Regions from separate parts of the Homo sapiens genome. Here all the other regions are linked to region 1. The links are contacts of gene promoters, found by promoter capture Hi-C in blood cells and fetal thymus (Javierre and others, 2016). All regions are on one chromosome and are shown on one strand. Each heading gives the region's core, a stretch centred on a gene start or on the middle of the fragment in contact. The rest is flanking DNA. Distances are from core to core; before and after follow the strand shown. Region 1 holds the start of C18orf32 (chromosome 18 open reading frame 32). Region 2 holds the start of CTIF (cap binding complex dependent translation initiation factor). Region 3 has its middle 37 kb from the start of SKA1. Region 4 holds the start of MIR4743 (microRNA 4743). Region 5 overlaps SMAD7 (SMAD family member 7).

Region 1 (2,535 bases), core at 20-2,519:
GGTATTTGGGGAGCTGAGGAAGGAGAGAACCGCTTGCGCCCAGGAAAGCCGAAACTGCCGTGAGCTATGATGGCCCACTGGACTCCAGCCTGGGCCACAGAGGCAGACCCTGTCTCAAGATTAAAAAAAAAAAAAAATCCAAAAGTTGTAACCTGTCCAAAGTTCTCACAGAGGTAACTGGTAACTAGAGCTTCTAAGACCATTATTTCCAGTTCTGGTTTTCCTCAATGCTCTTGCCTTTTCCTCTTCCAAAAACACAATGGTCATGTTTTTACCAAACTTTTACCAAACTTTCCAAACCAACGAAACCCCTTCAAAACAACTGACAATGCTACCAGTACTAGTTTAGTGACTGACAGGCCCTCCATCATAAAGATTCATTTTTACTTCTGCAATTGTGTTTTAAGTAAGTTCGCACACAGTACGATGTACATAAACTCTCGAGGACAAATACTACTAATCACTTACGCCACAATTACGGCTTTTAAGAGACTTTTTAGCTCTCTTCGGAATGAAGCCTATTTGTATCTTATCTTTTAATCTTCATAATAATACTTCGGTAAGATATTTTACTTCACACATATGGAAACTGGGTCAGAAAAGTCTAGAAGGTGGCTACGAGATATTATTATTTTAATTATTCGCTCCAAGCCAACAAAGCGAGCAAAACGGATTAAAGCTGTTGCAGAGGAATCTTCTTTCACTCAACTTAAGTCCAGACAACAGAGTAGACAGTTAAAGTCTGAGGCTCCATCCGAAATAGGGAAGGCATAACAGGGAAAGTCACCTTCCTCCAAGTCATCCAGTTGAGCATGTCATCTTAGTGGAGACAGAGGGAGCGGGGACAGGTTGAGTCAATGACAATGATTGAAAAGAGACGAGAACAGAGGCCTAACGGTGAAGGTCATAGAAAGGATGTGAAACCGATACTTGGCCACGGAAAAGAACAAAATCAATATAAAGTATCGGAGAGGCAAATGCAAGCTCCGAGGGCGCCGGTGGTGGACAAAGAATACAGACAGAGGGGAGGGGAGGGCGGGGCGGAGGGCGGAGGAGCGCGCTCGCGGAAGGAAGGTACCCTGAGAGCGAAGGCAGGCACCGCGGAGGCCGGCGGGCCGCGACCGCCGAGGAGGGAGGAGGCAGGAGGCCGCGCACCGCCTAGGACTCTGCGAGCGCGGCCCGGGCTGGGCCTGCGGAGCAGCTACAAAGCCCAACCCAGGCCGCTAGCCCGGGCACACTCACCCGCGACCGCGGAAACGCAGCTGACAATGTCCGCACTTCCGGAGGGAGGGACGATCCGCAGCCGAGCCAATGGGCGCCTTCAACGGGGACGACAAAGGCGCGCTTGCGTCAACCCGGGGTCGCACAGCACGCAGCAGTGTTGCCCAAGGGGCGCGGCGAGGCTTCCGGCTCTGCGGCCTGCAGGTAGCGCGAAAGTCCTGCGCGTCCCAGATGCCCAACTAAAAGCTTCGCTGCGGGAAGAAAGCCTGACCTGACTACACCCAGACCCAGAACGCAGGATCTCGGTAAAGGATGATGCCTGTGCAAACGGCGCGGCACCCACACGGAAGGTGGCAGCTAGGCCGTTGAGGCAACTGTGGATAAGCTATTAGTTTTGCTGGTTTCTTAAATTCAAGGGCAGAGCAAACTAACATTAAGGCCAACTTTACAAACGTCAGTTGCTTAAAAGAAGCAGTTACATCACTTTATAAACGAAAAGTACTGACGCTCGCTAGGATGTCAGTACGTGTTGGCGAAGTTGTGTGAAAACTGGGACCCTCATAAACCGTTGGTGGAAATGTAGCGTGCAGCCTTTTTGGAAATATTTGGAAGTTCCTCAGATGTTTACTCAGGTAACCTTATGATCTAGCAATTCCACTCTAGTATATACTCAATAAATGAAAACACAAAAATCTGCACACAAACGTTCACAGTACCATCGTTCCTAATAGCAAAAACAAAACCCCTTTATCAATTGACGAAATGATACAGGTTGAGCATCAACCTAAAAAGCTTCAAAACCTGAGCCTGAGTGCTGTTATCATACTCAAAGGCAATGCTCAATGGAGCCATTTCCAACTGGGGATGATCAACTGGTATATTCACATACTGGATTGTTCTGCAAAGAAAACCACTGCAAATTCCTTTTGGGATAATGAAACTTTTTTTGAGACAGGGTCTTGTTCTGTCTTGCCCACGCTGGGGTGCAGTAGTGCTCACTGCAGCCTCCCACCTCAGCCCCCCAATTAGCTGGGACTACATGCAAGTGACACCACACTTACTTTTTTTTAACAGACAGGGTTCTGACATGTTGCCCTGGCTGGGCTTAAGCAGTCAGCCTCCACCTCCCAAAGTGCTGGGACTACAGAAATGAGCCACTGTGCCCAGCCATGAAAATGGTTTTTAATGGTGCAGGGTAAACAATCTTGTGTTTCTAGTTCTAATCCTAAAAAATCCTCATTTGATCCATCTTGTAAGGACACTTGAAATATGTTCACTAATAAAGACAACCAACATTCTTTTCCTTTTAATTAC
Region 2 (2,535 bases), core at 1-2,500, 950 kb before region 1:
AAAAAAAAAAAATTGGCCAGGTGTGGTGGCGGGCGCCTGAAGTCCCAGCTACTTGGGAGGCTGAGGCAGGAGAATGGCATGAACCAGGGAGGCAGAGCTTGCAGTGAGCCAAGATCACGCCACTGCACTCCAGCCAGGGCAACAAAGAGAGACTCAGTCTCCAAAAAAAAAAAAAAAGAAAAAAAAACTTAGAAATTCTTTGCTCAAGTATCACTTCCTCCAGGAAGTCTTCCTGACCCTCTCCCAGACCCCACCCACCCTCCATCCAGTTGGCTGCTCCAGGTTGTGTGGTGGGGGGAATTTCACAGCACTTTGTGTTAAGCGCTGACTTATCCCTTGTATAATACTTTCATTGACTGTAGTCCCTAATACTGGACTGAGCTCCTTGAGCGCAGAGACTGTGAGTCTTACCTGTTTTGGCATTCCTAGACACACCTGGTCTGTGGAAAGTGCTCACTAAATGTGAATATAAACTAATGAATAAATGGGTTTCTACAGCAGTTTATACTGCATCACACAGTTCCTCTAATGAATTTCTAGCCCCCTTCCCTGTTGGGGCATACAGTATTTTATTCAGTATTTCTCCTGAAGGCCTCTCTGTGCCAAGCTCAGTTTTAACCAAAACATTGGTGATCTGGTTAAGTCATTACTGAATTATCCACTACGTTGAATTCTCCCAACCACCCCGTCCCAGCCCTTAGCTTGGCCGAAGGAAAATTAATTGGTTGCAAAGTGCGTATCTAATTACAACAGCCAGCCCCCGACACAGAGATGCTCAAATGTTAATTATAACATATGCATCTCAATAACCGACGGTGGCATTTAGTGCAGCATTAATCACGCCACTTGGGCCCCCCAGTGCATACACAAAGCTCCTTTTCATCTGCCATTAGCACAGACTTTGCACTTTCGGCACGGACGTTCTCATCCTTAAAGCCTTTCGGACTCTAAAACCAACGTTTCCCTGTAAGCCTGGACTGCGCCTAAGCCCCCAGTTCTCCCACCGCAGAGGCCCCCACCCAGGGCTGCGCCAGCGCCGTGGGGTCGCTGGGCGGCGGGTTTTGGCGTCGCTAGACTGGGCTGTCTTGGCAGCTAAGGCGACATCCCGAGCGTCCTGGGGCCACCCTGCTCTCCAGGGCCCGCCATCCTGGAAAAGAAAGGCGAACTACATTACCCAGCAGGCCTCCAGCCGCCCTCTTTCCTTTCAAGTCTTTGCACGTGGCCGGAGGGGAGGGCGGGGCCTGAACGTCACTCTCCTACATTCTCTTTCCCTGTGTCAGATCAGGGATCATTTTTTTTCCTTCCTCTACTCCCTCCCCCCTACCCGCCCCTCCCTCCCTGTTTCCCTTCCCTCCCTCCCTCCCCTCTCTGCTGGGTCTGTGCGCTGGGGCGCCCGATCCCCTCCGCAGCTGGGACGCTCCGAACTCGAGGCAGGAGTCGGCTCTCCGGAGCCTCGTCCCTCCCTTCCCCTTCCCTGCCCCCTTCCCCCACCCCCGACTCGGGCTTGGCGCGGCGGCCAGAGGAACCCCGAGGTGAGCATCTCCTCGCCCGTCCTCCTCTTATAGTCATCTCAGCTTGCTGATCGATTCGGGGACCCGGGAGGAGGGCTGCGTGACGTGGGCGTGCTTATAGATAAATCCGGGAAAACCGCCCCAAACAATCAGCCCCCTTCCCCCCATCCCTGCTCCTGGGCCAGCGGGGTGTCCGCACCCATCTACCATCCCCTCCTCCCCCTCGGTGGGGAACTGCACTCCACAGTGTCGCCCCCTCCCTGGGTTTGTCCCATTCCCTGCCGGGTTCCCCGCCCCGCGGGGTGTCGTGGCCCTGGAGCTCCGGCGCCAAGGGGGGCTCTTGGGGGACGCACGGCTGGAGCCCGGCTCGCTTTGGAGCTGCGCGGTGTAGCCGCTGTCATGTGCCGGGTTCCGACCTGGGAGGAGGAAAAGAGCGAGCGCGATTCCTCTCCCTTTTGTTTTGAAGCCCGCATTTGCTGCATCGAGCAGTTGGTTTAGTATCAGCCAAACTTGCAGCTGTTCAGACCGCGCTCCGCCGAGGTAGGGAGCCCGTCTCGGGGTGGCGTTTGGGGGCCGGGGGCTGCGGCACTCGGGGCTGCGGGAGGGACCCCGAGAGTGTGTCGCCACGCCGCCCCTCCCTTCCCCGGTGACTGATTGTGTCTGTGGCAGCGGGCGTGTGTGAGTGTGCGCGCCCGTCCCCGCGGGCTCGGGGATGTCTGTGGATGGCTGTCGTCTAGACAGGGCGCAGCCCCCTCCCTGCGTCCCCGGTGAGCCCGCGGGCCGCGGGGGGAGCGGGGGATGGGAGCAGAGGAAGAAACCAAATCGGTGGACCCGTTGCGGTCTCCCCTTTGGTTATTCCCAACGGTTGTGGTTCTGTTGGCTTTTTTTATTATTCCTGTCGCTGCGGTGCAATCGGGCCTGGGGAATAGATACGCCCGGCGGAGAGGGGTTCACTTGACAGGCTCTGAAAAGCCACCTCTGGGTGGCGAGTGACCCGAGAGGCCGTGGGGTGGGCTCCGGCTCG
Region 3 (2,535 bases), core at 19-2,518, 850 kb after region 1:
CTTTTTCCATTTCTTTTATTGGGGCAGTTTGCTTTTCAGTGGCCTGGCCTTCTGTACCGATGGCAGTAACCTGGAAGAGTGTTCTTAGGGAAACCTGGAAGGGGCTGGTGCTTGTAAAGCAGCCAACAGTTGAGTCTGTGTTTTGCCTCTGCATTTGTTTTTTTCTTTCTAACCCTGTTCTACTCTTGGTTATAAAAGACTGAGGAGGCTAATTAGAGGATTTTCTGCATAGGAGCCATGCTGTAGTACACAAGAAAAATAGACATTTCTTTTTGAGAGTCTCAGGGTTAAATTTCTCTTAATGTTTTAGGACGCAACCCAGAGGTGAATCTGAAGAAATAGACGGGGTTTGTCTCATGGTAGGACTGGAAAATGAGCCTCTCGTGAGCCTGTCGGGGCTAACTGAACCGCACTTCCACGTGGGGCATCCCGTCAATGAAAAGGGTTCCACTCAGGTCTGCTGAGGGACTCAAGTGCACTTTCTAACGGGGTGTCTCACCTATTAGGAAAGACCTCTCAGTTGCCTGTGGGCCTTACACTGGGTGATCAGCCCACCTATGGGGAAAAAGGGTAAAGGAAGAGGTCTGTCTGGTGCCCGCCCAGGAGATGGGGGTGGGTAAAGGAAGACTCACTGTTCTGAGGCTGTTTGAGACCACTTGATTTAGCAATGCCCAGAACAGTTTGGCTCCACAGGAGAATCCAGAGTGAGAAGGAGAGGGTCTAAGTCACCTAAAACATGTATGAATTTGCCCTTAAGGAGCTTCCACTGTCAGTCATGTCACAGGTAGGGATTAGGGACTTTTTACTAGAAAAGAAAGGGGAGAGTCTTTTTCCCTTTTAGGCAAGGCAGCCAGCCCTGTTCACCCTTTGGCTTCAGGCAACACTGGAGAGTGGCCCTGGCCAGTTATCATTAATTTCCAGAGGGATAATAGAAGCCAGCTGCTGGGAGACTGAAAAGAGAAAATAAACTCAGGTCCCTCACCTGAAAGGGCAGTGGTGGTCAGACACTTCCACACAGATGCCTTTCAGTCCCACCAGAGTGTAGCTCTAGCCAGGGACCTACAGCTGTCTCTGTGTTTAGACACTGTCCACTGAGGATTGCAAGTTGGGAAAGAGGAAGAGAGAGAGGAGAGGGTTCCCCATAAAGAGAGTTCCCCATATGGGCCACCAAAATGTCACGGATGATTAGCGACTATCTGGGGCCAGTGGCATGGGGTTAAGAATTTACCAAGACAACTGTAGGTAAAGAAAAGCAGACATGTTAGAGAAAGTATGAAAATATGTTGTAAGGGTGCAACAGGCAGATTAGCAAGAGAGGAGCTGACAGCAAGGAAACAAAGCCTTGCTGGGGATTTTACAGGATGGTACTTCTGTGTGCTGAAGAGGGCTTTGTGCAGTACTGACAATGCCAAGATTGCAGTGAGCTAACTTGAATTTTTCTATTAGTAGAGAGTCTGGTGATAGCTGGGCACGGGAAGATTGTGAGTTATTTGCGCAGGAGGGCTATGTGTCCTGGACCATGAAGAAAGGCAGACTTATAGCTTATCTGATTTCTCTTTCTGCTTTCCTTTGGTCCTGCCAGCTTGACTCCGTTTCCCTAATTAGGACTCCACACCAGTTGTTTTCACTTTAGATTAGAAGTTCCTTGAAAACAGAGAGGAGGCCCCTAAGGGGTGAAGGGTAAACTATTCAGGGCTCATTGTATTCACTATTCTGCCTCCATGGAGCTCTGCACCGAGCAGGGGCTGGATCAATAACTCTAATTGCCTAAGTGTGGATAGAGGAGTCTGGCCTGTTGGAACTGGTCTGCACTAACAAATGAATCCAGGTCCTTAGGTCAGTAGTTCATGTGACTTGTCTGGACATCAACATTCTTCAGGAGAGGCATCTCCCTGGCCTCCTGCCACCATAGTCCTTTTATGCACCCATCCTTCCCGCCCAGCAGCTGCCTTGGTCTTTCCTAATAGGTGAGACACCCCGTTAGAAAGTGCACCTGAGTGCCTCAGCAGAGCTGAGTGGAACCCTTTTCATTGACGGGATGCCCCACGTGGAAGTGCGGTTCAGTTAGCCCCGACAGGCTCACAAGAGGCTCATTTTCCAGTCCCACCGTGATTGAGGTGATAACTTTAAAGCAGTAATAATATAGAAACCAAAAATGCTCACAGTCCAATCACCTTCCACAGAGGATGGTTCACAATGTAGAGGGAGAGTTCCAGATATCTTAACTGCATAGCCAATTCAAGGCTTGAAGAAAGGCAGACTTATAGCTTATCTGATTTCTCTTATTGCTTTTCCTTGGTACTGCCAGCTTGACTCCTTTTCCCTAATTAGGACTCCACACCAGTTGTTTTCATTTTAGATTAGAAGTTCCTTGAAAACAGGGAGCAGGCCATGGATGTGCTGCATCCCAAACAAGCACCCTTCTGTGACATGCTCCCATCCTCATCTCAGGAGACACTCCAAGGGTTGTCTGGGACAGTGAGAGCCCTTCAAGACCCCAAATTATGGTTGTCCAAATAGAGAACTTATTTATAA
Region 4 (2,535 bases), core at 24-2,523, 820 kb before region 1:
ACTGACAATACTTACTATGCACCGGCCATGCTCCAGCCTCTGTTCTAAGTGTTTGCCTCATTTATTTAAAACTCGCCACCACCCAGAGAGGGAGGAACTGTTACCATCTTCTCTTCAATAGATGAAGCAACTAGGAGACCCAGAAATTGAGTAATTTGCATGAGGCTGGGTTGGCTCCAGAATCTGTGTCCTTAATTAATCACCCTCCTGCCTCTTTGCCTAAACAACAGCAACAATATTAGTGGTAATGAAAGTAGTCATAGTAGTAGCAATATATTTACTTCATTATTTATTTTAATTTTGTTATTATTACCAGTATTTACCATTAAACATATGTGTGTATGTTTAAGATATATTTAATGGTAAATACAGATAATAATACATACACAAGAAATATACACACACACATTTATAAACAAACAAGCTAAACATTTATATATATATATATATATATATATATATATATATATATATATATATAAGCTAGACTATATATGTGTGTATATATGTACCGTTTACTGTGGGCTGTCACAGTTCTAAGCATCTAAGCACTCCAGATACATTCATTAATTTAATCCTCCAGCCACCTTAAGATGTTAGACACTATTATCCTCATTTAACAAATGAGGAAACTCATTTGATGAAATGAGTACAGAGAGGTTAAACAACTTGTACAGGGTCCCCAGTTGGTAAGGGATGCAGCGGGGATTCAAACCCTGGGAGTCTGGTTTCGGAATCTGCACCCTTAAATATGCCAAAGATTCAGACCTCTGGCCAGGGAGTTGGGGCCAGCCTCTCTGGCCCGAGGGCACGCCCACTCACAGAGGACATGAAGACAAAGCATAGACTATCTGAGTGGGCTTGCTGGACTGACCCAGAGTCAAGCCAAAAAGGAAGGAAGCCCTATTGGGTTTTCTGCTAGCCCCTGCCAGCCTATGTGACCTTGAGAAAGTTGCTTGGTGTCTCTGTCCACTGATCTTCTGTTCAGTGTAATGGGGCAAGGTGGATGGGCTTTGACAGGAGTTGTGATGAGTAAGGAGCTTAGCTTCTCTGCCTGGAAGGAGCAAGGGGAACTCTGGTTCCTCTCCCACCTCCCTCCAGGTTGGCTGTTGCATTACGGGAGGACCCCCCCCCCACACACACACAGCTTCTCTAGGGCTGTTTCCTCTAGGTGGGACAGCCCCTGCAGGGCTTGAGGGTGGGCAGCACCAGGTATCTGCTGACTGTCCCTCCTCTCCTGCTGGCCGGATGGGACAGGAGGCATGAATGAGCCATCTTTCCAATGCCTTTCTGTCTTTTCTGGTCCAGGTGTGGCAAAGGGAAGCTGGAAGATGGGGATGGCATCAACCTGAATGACATCGAGAAGGTCCTTCCAGCCTGGCAGGTAGGTGCAGGGGCAGGCTCTCTAACAGCCCACCCCCACCCCTGGAGTCCTGATCCTCTTCCTGGACAGGACCTAACCAAAGCACTCCTTCTGGCTGCTTGTTCCAGCAAGGAGTGTAACCGCCTGTATGGTAGTAATAGGCAGGGCTGGCTACCTGCCATTCTCCAGGGTGTCCCATTGTGATCGTGTGTGTGACAGCCTACTCGGTGATGCTGCAGGCCCTGCTGGCAGGCCTGATGTGCCCTAGAGATGAAATAGACCATGCCCTGGCAACTCAGTGAACTTGGAAGTTTTTGTCCCTTGGCCTGAAACCTCTCTGCAGGTGAAGTGTCCTGTGGTGTGTTCAGGTGGGACTGGCAGGCCTGGAAGAGATTCTAATGTGGCTGGGGCTGTCTTTAGGCTTTTGAACAGTGGACTTGCCCTGCTGGCCTCCAGGTGTCTGCTATGCTTGCTCTTTTTTTTATTGATTGGGCCTCTTTCCTGGAATCAGGCCAGGTTCCAGGACAAAGAGGATTCACTCAGTGAATCCAGGTCTCTAGATACTTATAGTGCTGGACTTTTGGTGGAAACAGCAGGAGTCTAGCTGCTCTCAGGAGTGTGACTGGGCCTGCTGCAGGGGTGTAAAAGCAGTGGACCTTCCACAGTGACTGAGTCTGCCGCTGCCAGTGACCATGACCTACCACCACACTCCACTGTGCCACCCTTCCCTTCTCTCCTGATTCTTCTCCTGCTATTTTATCTATATCCATTCATCTCTTCCTGGTGCCTTTGCCATTTTGTTTCTTCTCTGTTCATGCCTTGGGCCTATCAATGAGAGACAATAGAGCATACAGTTAAGACCTCATCTATTTGATTATGATGTGCCTTGGTGTGGTGGTTTTCTTCATGTTTCTCCCACTTGGGATTTATTGAGTTTCTTGGATCTGTAGGTTTATAGTTTCATCAAATTTGGAAAATTTTCAGCCACGATTCCTCCTACTTTCCCTCAACCCTGGGGTTCCAATTGTATGTATTCTATGCTTCTTCATCTTTTCCCATGGCTCACCAAAGCTCTGCCTGATTTTTTAAAGTCTTTCTTTACTCTCTGTGTTTCATTTTGGATAGCTTTTATTGCTATTTCTTCAAGTTCACTAATATTTTATTCCAGTGTC
Region 5 (2,535 bases), core at 26-2,525, 550 kb before region 1:
AAGCAGAATCAATCCACAAACTCCACCCCACAAGTCCACAACCTCTTGGAGAGGCCGCCCTGACATCAACCCACCCCAGCGACAGGGACCCACCCTATCCCAGAGCCTGCCTGTGGGCATCCGCACGCTCTCATGTGTTTGCGCACGGGATTGTCTATCTGTACGTCTGCGGCAAAACCCACCCACCCACACACCCACCCCCACAACACACACACACGCATACACACACAAGCTTGCACCCAGCAATCCATCTGTCTCAGAGAGCCAGCTGTCAAAAATGAAAGTACAATCTCCTGGAAGCAAGTCACTGCCTTCTAAAAATGTCCCATTTTCCCAGACCGAGGAAACTTGCAAGGGTGGGGTGTGTTTCACTGCAAGTCCCTAACGACCAGGCCTGTCGTCTACCCACCCCCCCACACCCCCCCAAAACAAAGCTGCAATGCTGGAATTCCAACCTGCAGCCAGCAGCCCCGCCCCCGGGCTCCTACCCGCCCACTCCCCTTCCTCCCGGGCAGTTTGCAAGGGCGCAGGAAAGGGAAGGGCCAGCCTTGGAGTCACCCCTGCATTTCAGGAGAGGACCGGCCTTTGAGCACACCCCACCCCCACCTCCGAGGCACCACATTTTCACATTCGGCTGTTTTTTCTTTCCCTTCTTCCCTTGCCAAGAGAATCAAGCCCTGGCTCCTGCTGCCGACCTTCCTCCCACCCTAAACTGAGCCCCATTCATTAAGCCCGCTCTCAGCCAGGGCAGGACAGGAAGGAAAACAGCACACAGGGCCTGTGAAAGAGGCTCAGAGAGGTTATTTCAAGGAGGAGGAGGGAGAAACTCCTCAGTTTTCACTGCTCCCCACCTTGCTGCCAGGCTCCCACCCCCCAACCTCAGTGTCTGCTATGCCCCTTCCCCCATCCAGCCCTGCCACATCCAGTCACTGGCCTCATCCACAGCAAGGCAGACACACCCAGGCCACCCCCCATGGAACGATCAACTTCTTGAAAAGGAGGAGGTTTGGGCTTTCTCCATTTACAAAACTCTCTGCCCTGGACAGGGGCCAATAAAGTTCCCTTTTGGAAGGCATTCTCGCTACAAAGAGGACAGCCCTAGGTTTTCTCCGTGCCCATCACCTCCCCTCCAGACGCCCCCAAGCCGGTGACATCAACCCCCAAAACAGTGTACCCTCCCCACCATGGCCCATTATGAATACACTGCACCAACTCTGAACGGAAAGAAGAAGGAGCTCAAACTTTGAAGCCTTTGGAATTAGTAAATCAAGAGCTGAAATTCAAAACAAATGCTCTTGCCATGTGGAAGGCCCCCTCTTCTCTCTGCAGTCTTCTGAAGCCACACTGCCCTTCAGAGAGTCACTGCTTCTTCCTGGCAGCTCCTTATTAATATCTGTGTCTACAATTACCTGGAGGGGTGAGGGGAAGGAGTTAATGATTGTTTTACCCCCAGTTTCTTTCTAGGACTGGAAGAGCTTTGGGGAAAAAAAGCCCACCCATCGGCCAGGCGCAGTGGCTCACACCTGTAATCTCAGCACTTGGGGAGGAAAGGGTGGGTGGATCATCCGAGGTCAGGAGTTCAAGACCAGCCTGGCCAACATGGCGAAACCCCATCTCTACTAAAAATACAAAAAATTAGCTGGGCACAGTGGTGGATGCCTGTAATCCCAGCTACTTGGGAGGCTGAGGCAGGAGAATTGCTTGAACCTGGGAGGTGGAGGTTGCAGTGAGCCGAAATCGGGCCACTGCACTCCAGCCTGGTGACAGAGCGAGACTCCGTCTGTGTGAGCCGAAATCGCGCCACTGCACTCCAGCCTGGGCGACAGAGCGAGACTTTGTCAAAAAAGAAAAAAAAAAAAAAGCCCACCCATCTCCTGAGGGCTTCACAGGTCACATGGCACGGGCGGGTGAGGAGGCACTCAGGCTGGTATCTCAGCCTGGTGTCGTCATTTCCTCCGGCAGGGGAGACAGACAAGATGTTATCAAGAAGACAAACCTTCCGAAAGGACCCTTTCAAAAGCTGCCACTTCCCTTGCTTATTTCATGTGGTTTGGAGGGGCCGGGGCTCCTCCCTGCACATTCAGGGTTTAAAAAATAAAACCATCTAACAACATCCTGAGCGTGTTATTCTGCTGAGACCCTTTCCTCTCATTGGCCTTCTTTCTTTCAAGAACTCTCTCAGCCTTAGAAAGCAGAAAAGATGCAGTTCACACACTGCTGCCTTTTCTCCCTCCTCAACTCCTCTGTCCACTCCCACCGTACTGCCTGAAGCCCCCTCCCTTCTCTAGGTCCCTCTTTTTCCTGCTCAATTCTCATTAGAAGCTTTGAGTAAACAATACCCTCAGTCTCAGATAACAGAGTATATATTGCATTGAAATGAAAACAAACAAGGGTCTCCCTAAAGACGTTCTCAGCAAGCTCAGTTCCTGAAGAGGAGAGCCGGGGAGGGAGCCGTCCGGGAATGAACTTTGCCTGAGCCAGCCATGGAAGACACACCACCAAGTAGTCAGAGCAGGTACCCCACAAAAAAGGGTG

The links. The method cuts DNA at HindIII sites, captures the fragments that hold promoters and counts their contacts. A CHiCAGO score of 5 or more calls a contact.
Region 2: a contact is called between the fragment with the promoter of CTIF here and the fragment with the promoter of C18orf32 in region 1, in 10 of 17 cell types (total CD4 T cells, monocytes, total B cells and 7 more). The highest score is 12.3, in total CD4 T cells.
Region 3: a contact is called between a fragment that was not itself captured here and the fragment with the promoter of C18orf32 in region 1, in 1 of 17 cell types (total B cells). The highest score is 5.8, in total B cells.
Region 4: a contact is called between a fragment that was not itself captured here and the fragment with the promoter of C18orf32 in region 1, in 1 of 17 cell types (fetal thymus). The highest score is 7.2, in fetal thymus.
Region 5: a contact is called between a fragment that was not itself captured here and the fragment with the promoter of C18orf32 in region 1, in 1 of 17 cell types (fetal thymus). The highest score is 5.4, in fetal thymus.

The regions. Positions count from the first base shown.
Region 1 is chr18:49,485,965-49,488,499 of GRCh38, forward strand. It overlaps C18orf32 (chromosome 18 open reading frame 32), which reads right to left and starts at 1,270. Exons shown (of 3, transcript NM_001035005.4): 1 at 1,079-1,270. The region is part of intron 5 of RPL17-C18orf32 (RPL17-C18orf32 readthrough); the gene reads right to left. RPL17 (ribosomal protein L17) reads right to left here. Exons shown (of 7, transcript NM_001035006.5): 7 at 2,517-2,535. MIR1539 (microRNA 1539) reads left to right here and starts at 1,409; the gene lies at 1,409-1,458. RefSeq lists a silencer at 999-1,128 and an enhancer at 1,169-1,328. The HindIII fragment of the contact is 3,674 bases long and covers 1-1,465 here.
Region 2 is chr18:48,537,781-48,540,315 of GRCh38, forward strand. It overlaps CTIF (cap binding complex dependent translation initiation factor), which reads left to right and starts at 1,251. Exons shown (of 12, transcript NM_014772.3): 1 at 1,251-1,532. RefSeq lists silencers at 1,357-1,436, 1,937-2,296. The HindIII fragment of the contact is 7,178 bases long and covers 1-2,535 here.
Region 3 is chr18:50,337,200-50,339,734 of GRCh38, forward strand. No RefSeq gene overlaps it. Among named protein-coding and RNA genes, the nearest start is that of SKA1, 37 kb to the right of the region's middle. The HindIII fragment of the contact is 2,599 bases long and covers 1-2,535 here.
Region 4 is chr18:48,669,361-48,671,895 of GRCh38, forward strand. It overlaps CTIF (cap binding complex dependent translation initiation factor), which reads left to right. Exons shown (of 12, transcript NM_014772.3): 6 at 1,309-1,384. MIR4743 (microRNA 4743) reads left to right here and starts at 1,240; the gene lies at 1,240-1,308. The HindIII fragment of the contact is 6,169 bases long and covers 1-2,535 here.
Region 5 is chr18:48,938,968-48,941,502 of GRCh38, forward strand. All of the region lies in intron 3 of SMAD7 (SMAD family member 7), which reads right to left. Among named protein-coding and RNA genes, the nearest start is that of SMAD7, 11 kb to the right of the region's middle. RefSeq lists an enhancer at 2,484-2,535. The HindIII fragment of the contact is 2,090 bases long and covers 231-2,320 here.